Regions from separate parts of the Homo sapiens genome. Here region 1 is linked to region 2. Evidence: promoter capture Hi-C in 16 types of primary human blood cells and fetal thymus (Javierre and others, 2016). All regions are on one chromosome and are shown on one strand. The core of a region is centred on a gene start or on the middle of the fragment in contact, and the rest is flanking DNA. Distances in the headings are between cores, read along the strand shown.

What was found. Contacts are between HindIII fragments. The CHiCAGO score rates a contact against its expected background, and 5 or more counts as called.
Region 1: a contact is called between the fragment with the promoter of ANGEL2 here and the fragment with the promoter of C1orf74 in region 2, in 3 of 17 cell types (non-activated CD4 T cells, total CD4 T cells and naive B cells). The highest score is 7.8, in non-activated CD4 T cells.

The regions. Positions count from the first base shown.
Region 1 is chr1:213,014,542-213,017,241 of GRCh38, reverse strand. ANGEL2 (angel homolog 2) reads left to right here and starts at 1,375. Exons shown (of 9, transcript NM_144567.5): 1 at 1,375-1,629. The coding sequence starts at 1,571. RefSeq lists enhancers at 1,340-1,649, 1,362-1,949, 1,950-2,538. The HindIII fragment of the contact is 5,816 bases long and covers 1-2,700 here.
Region 2 is chr1:209,782,975-209,785,826 of GRCh38, reverse strand. It overlaps C1orf74 (chromosome 1 open reading frame 74), which reads left to right and starts at 1,268. Exons shown (of 2, transcript NM_152485.4): 1 at 1,268-1,449; 2 at 2,118-2,852. The coding sequence starts at 2,193. It overlaps IRF6 (interferon regulatory factor 6), which reads left to right. Exons shown (of 9, transcript NM_006147.4): 9 at 1-210. RefSeq lists enhancers at 330-945, 1,130-1,389, 946-1,563. The HindIII fragment of the contact is 4,418 bases long and covers 1-2,852 here.

The DNA of each region.
Region 1 (2,700 bases), core at 126-2,625, 3.2 Mb before region 2:
ATGTCTTTAAGCGGAAACACACATACAACAAAACTATGTATTGATTAAGTTGATGAAAATGCGACCAGAGGCTTACAGGATCCTAATCCTGTATTTCCCTTAGGAGTAATGATTCAGTATTTACTAATTCAGTGTTTCCAGCAACTTTACAGAACCTAACTACTGCAAATAACAAGAATCAATTACATACTGAGGGAAAGGTTTTTTTCAAATACACTTTACTTCCTTTTATGCACCAGGGATAAGAAAAGCCTTCCCAAGAAATTACCACTGTTTCAAAGAGCCTATAAAAGCAGTGCTCCTGCCTTCTAGTATCCTTTTCCCCTCTACTCTCCACACTTTATTCTTTCTCGGTTTCTCTCTTCCTGTTTCTTGCAGGGTCTCCACTTAAATAATGTCTTTCAACAATCTACAGTCCTATAATACATTTAATAAAGGTGGACACACAAGACATACAAGTACTTTTTTTTTTTTTTTTTTTTTTTTTGAGACGGAGTCTCGCTCTGTCGCCCAGGCTGGAGTGCAGTGGCTCGATCTCTGCTCACTGCAAGCTCTGCCTCCCAGGTTCACGCCATTCTCCTGCCTCAGGCTCCCGAGTAGCTGGGACCACAGGCGCCCGCCACCACGCCCGGCTAATTCTTTGTATGTTTAGTAGAGACGGGGTTTCACCGTGTTAGCCAGGATGGTCTCGATCTCCTGACCTCGTGATCCGCCCGCCTTGGCCTCCCAGAGTGCTGGGATTACAGGCGTGAGCCACCGCGCCCGGCCCATACACGTACATTTTAAAGTGAGAGCTATGGCTGTGCTTCCGCAACATTAATTGCAAAATTCTGTGGTACCTCAGTTCCATGGGCACCCAGAGGATGCGTTGTTCAGCCTCAGCTGGGAATCTGCACTTTGGGCAATTAAAAATTTTCACTGCTCTGTTTATTTCTGCCGGGCGCGGTAGCTCACTCCTGTAATCCCAGCACTTTGGGAGGCCGAGGCGGGCGAATCACTTGAGGTCAGGAGTTCGAAACCAGCCTGGCCAACATGGTGCAACCCTGTCTCTACTAAAAATTCAAAAATTAGCCGGGTGTGGTGGCTCATGCCTGTAATCCCAGCTACTTGGCAGGCTGAGGCAGGAGAATCGCTTGAACCCGGGAGGTGGAGGTTGCAGTGAGCCGAGATCGTGCCATTGCACTACAGCCTGGGCGACAAGAGCGAAACTCCATCTCAAAAAAAAAAAAAGAAAGAAAGAAAGAAAAAGAAAAAAAAGAAAGTTTATTTCTGTTTCTTTAAGACGAAGTTCGGGTGTTTTGCCCTCTTCAGAAATGGTTGCACGCGCGTCCCACGCTCTGCGCATGCTCCTTGAGCAGAATTCCGGGTTAAGGCATTCAGGGACTCTGACTGCGCAAGATGGAGTGTAGGCCGGCCGGCGAGACTGCACCTCCCAGCATGCCTTGCAGCCAGGACTGGAGTCGGTACTTAAGAGTGATGGGGTTCCCTAGATACTTTAGGCCGTCGCATCGATTATAGAGATTGAGGTGGAACCCGGGGCCTGGGAACTGGACGCACGCGGAGGGCGAAGATGGAAGCCTGGCGCTGTGTGAGGAAGGGCTACGGCCACTGTGTGGTGGGAAGAGGCCGGTCAGTAGGGCTGGGTACTCGGAGGGAGGAGAGAGGGGCGGGCGGCCTGAAAGAGCGGGCGGGCGTCCGGGACTAACCCGGGGCGGGGCGGGGCGGGCTAGGGGTGGAAGGAAGAGGAAGAGGGTCTGGGCGATGGTGCATCCGGGACGAGCCTCCAGAGACCAAGCGGGATAGGTAAACCCGCCGCGCAGCTGGCGGGACGCTGGGCCAACGAGGTCTGGGGTCTTGGCGCGGAGTTCATGGGCCGCCGGCCAGGCTTGTGCCAGTGGCTTTGGATCCCTGGCCTGCTTCCCCCAACCCAGCCTCCAGACCAGCGCTGGCCTGCTCCACACACTCCGCAGCACCGTCCCGGGAACCGAGCGTCGGCGGGGAGGCCGCCTCTCCGCAGTAGGTCTCGGCGGGCCTGATCCCTTGGAGGCGCGTGTGTGGCACACGCCCAGGAGGGGCTTGATTTTTGTTGATGTGTTAGTGTCTTTCAAACTTTAGTCACTTGTATGTCATCCCTTACTGTTATGGCCAAGTTCTTGTTTCACGTGTATTATTTACTGGATATTTTTCTTTAAATTGACTCAGTTTTTTTTAAAAAGCACTTCAGTAGGTGCTGCCCACATTAGCTTCACCCTAAGCAGTGTCTGCAGAGTCTTGGATTTGATGTGCGATTATGTTTTTTCCTAATAAACTAACATAAGTATTTAGAAATTACAATCAAGTAATTTAACTGTGTACTCTGTGAAACCGACTCGTGTACCACCCACCACGCTTGGGAAACACAGCATGTATTATTACATAAGCGATGGGGATTTGGTTGTAACTCCCATAGGCCTGGGACTTGATGGTAATTCAGTTCAACAATGTTTCCTGAGTACCAGCTGTTTGCCAGGCACTGTGCTAGGCACTTGTGAAGATAACGGAATTAAAATGAATAAGACGGTTCTGTTCTGGCCCTGAAGGAGCTTAACATCTTAAGAGAAAAAAAAGTCTGAATAAATAACTGCAAATATAGATAATAGCTTTTGTAGTACAAGTATTATATTTCAATACAGTGGCTTATTAGCATAGAAAATGCATGGA
Region 2 (2,852 bases), core at 19-2,518:
TCCGCATCCTGCTTGACTGCAAACTTGCTGAAGGTAGGGACTGTTTGTCTTGGACTTCGCTGCCAGTCCTTAGAACAGTGTCTGGGACACAGTGTGTTCTCAAATATTTGTTGCTGGAATAAATGAATGAACTAAATCAGTCTTTTAGGGATTTACTGTTAACCACCATGGGAAAATTAAATAAATGCGGGGAAGGAAAACGTTCTAAAATTAGAAGACTACTTTCTACTCTCAGCTTCTGATTCCCTCTGAGCTAAGAACCAGACAGCCTTAGGCTGGTAACTCCTATAAGCTGGTCCTCCTCCCATGCTGACCCCATCTTTACTGTACAATTCACTTTTCATGGACTGAAGGCACCACCAAGATAGATCCAGGAGTGACAACTCCAGTGTAGGTGTCCACTGTTCCCTTAATCTCTGTCCTGCTCCAAGTATAAATAAATTGGGGCCATTTCCTTAGATATTGGGGTTTTCTCAAGAAATCCTTTCCCTTCGTGGCATGGGTCAAATCGCTGGTAGTTAAAAAGGTGTTAACTCTTACGTGAAATAACACTTTTTCTTTGTAATGACCTGACTGGAAAGCCTCTGTGTCATCACTTCTCATTTCTTATTTGAAATCAGCAAACTGGATTCAGTAGACATGAACTTAAGCCCCATGAAAGTGGGGGTTTTGTCTGTTTTGCTCACTGCAGTACCTCCAGGGCCTAGCAGCATGACTGGCACATATTTGTTCAAAGTGAATACTCACACCTTCACACCCTCCCTAGAGAGCTGTTGTAGGCCTCTCAAATGTAGGATTTAGGGAAGTCAAGTTAAAAAAAATTAAAACGTTTCAGCACCACCCACAGGTGAGGCTATTCTGCAAAATATGTTGTCTTGAGGTATGTTTCGTCTGGACAAAACGTATTTCCACAGACACAAATCAAAGGTGTTTATTAACTGCTGTGTGCCCTGTTTCTGGATTCCCAGTCAAGTGGGACACCAGACGTCATAACACAGGGAGGACGTTCGGCGAAGCAAAATGAGGGCAGCAGCGGGAAACCAGTTTCACCAGGTTCCGCCTTTTCTCGTTTACTTCCGCCCTTCCCAGTTCCTAAGCCGACAGATGGGGCCGCGTTCAGTCTGGCCGGAAAGGGCGGGCCGCACGGTGGCCCAAACTTCCGGCGCGCAGTAAGGCTGCCTAGCTAGTGATTCTAACGCGAGGCGCGCGAGCGGCTGGATGACGTCACGGAATGGGGGGAAAGAGGGCGGCACTCGAGTGGGTGCGCATGCGCAAGAAGGTGCCTGCGGGACTGGAGCAGAGCGGGCTGCGAGGGTCTTCCCAGCGCAGGCGGGTTTTCCAGTGTTACTTGCGGCTGGGCGTGGGGGACTAGCTGCCTTTCTGGCAGCAGGCAGGAAGCCGCAAAAAGTTTCTGAGCCCCCGAACCTGTAGCGGACGTGGAAAAAGAACGTATGTGAGACAGACTTATGCCTCATTTAGCAAATCACTATAACATGCTCTGGTGTGGGGTGTGTGGATCGGAGAAATCTCATCTTCCGAGGGTCCTTGATGTCGGACAGAAAGGGAAGGCGGGGCCAGCAGAAGTTAAAATACTACCCTTCTGCAGTTCTAGTGGATTTCATTCATTCATTTTTATGTGTCAGGGTGAGATGGTTGTTAGTCCACATTCTGGTGTATATTAATCAAATTACTATTCTTATAACTATTCTCTGGCGGGAAGAGTAGGGGAGTTGTCAGTGGAAAGGATACATTTGGAACTTGGAGCTCTGTCCCAGAAGGGCTTTTGGGCGAAATGCTGTGAATTTTGCCAAACACTGCCCCGCCTCCGCCTCTGCCCCAAATTCCCTACGGTTTGAACCAGAGAACGTAATTTGCAACAGGTGAAATTTAGAATAAAAGCCAGAGGGAATATAAATCTAGCTATAAGGCTAGAAAAACACACGAATTTATGATTGAGGGAGACCAAGTCAACCAGAAAAATCAAGCAGCATCGGTGAAACTATCTTGTCTGGGCTGGGTCGCCATTTCAAAGCAGGGAGGGACAGAATAACCTTTGGAAGATACCGCGATTTAACAGGAAGGCTGTTAATAATTCCCTGCTCCTGCTTTGTTTCTAGGCCCCTCCTCAAGTGTCTGGCTGAAAGATGCCACCCAGGGAAGGGAACTCGGGCTAGCTAAGGAGGCCATTCTTGATGTTGCTTCTAGATCTCATGTCATCACCGAGCCCTCAGCTGCTGGTGGCAGCTGCTCAGCAGACCCTTGGCATGGGAAAGAGACGGAGTCCACCCCAAGCCATCTGCCTTCACTTAGCTGGAGAGGTGCTGGCTGTGGCCCGGGGACTGAAGCCAGCTGTGCTCTATGATTGCAACTGTGCAGGGGCATCAGAGCTCCAGAGCTATCTGGAGGAGCTGAAGGGGCTTGGCTTCCTGACTTTTGGACTTCACATCCTTGAGATTGGAGAAAACAGCCTGATTGTCAGTCCTGAGCATGTATGTCAGCACTTGGAGCAGGTGCTGCTTGGTACCATAGCCTTTGTGGATGTTTCCAGCTGCCAGCGTCACCCTTCTGTCTGCTCCCTGGACCAGCTTCAGGACTTGAAGGCCCTCGTGGCTGAGATCATCACACATTTGCAGGGGCTGCAGAGGGACTTATCTCTAGCAGTCTCCTACAGCAGGCTCCATTCCTCAGACTGGAATCTGTGTACTGTATTTGGGATCCTCCTGGGCTATCCTGTTCCCTATACCTTTCACCTGAACCAGGGAGATGACAACTGCTTAGCTCTGACTCCACTACGAGTATTCACTGCCCGGATCTCATGGTTGCTAGGTCAACCCCCAATCCTGCTCTATTCT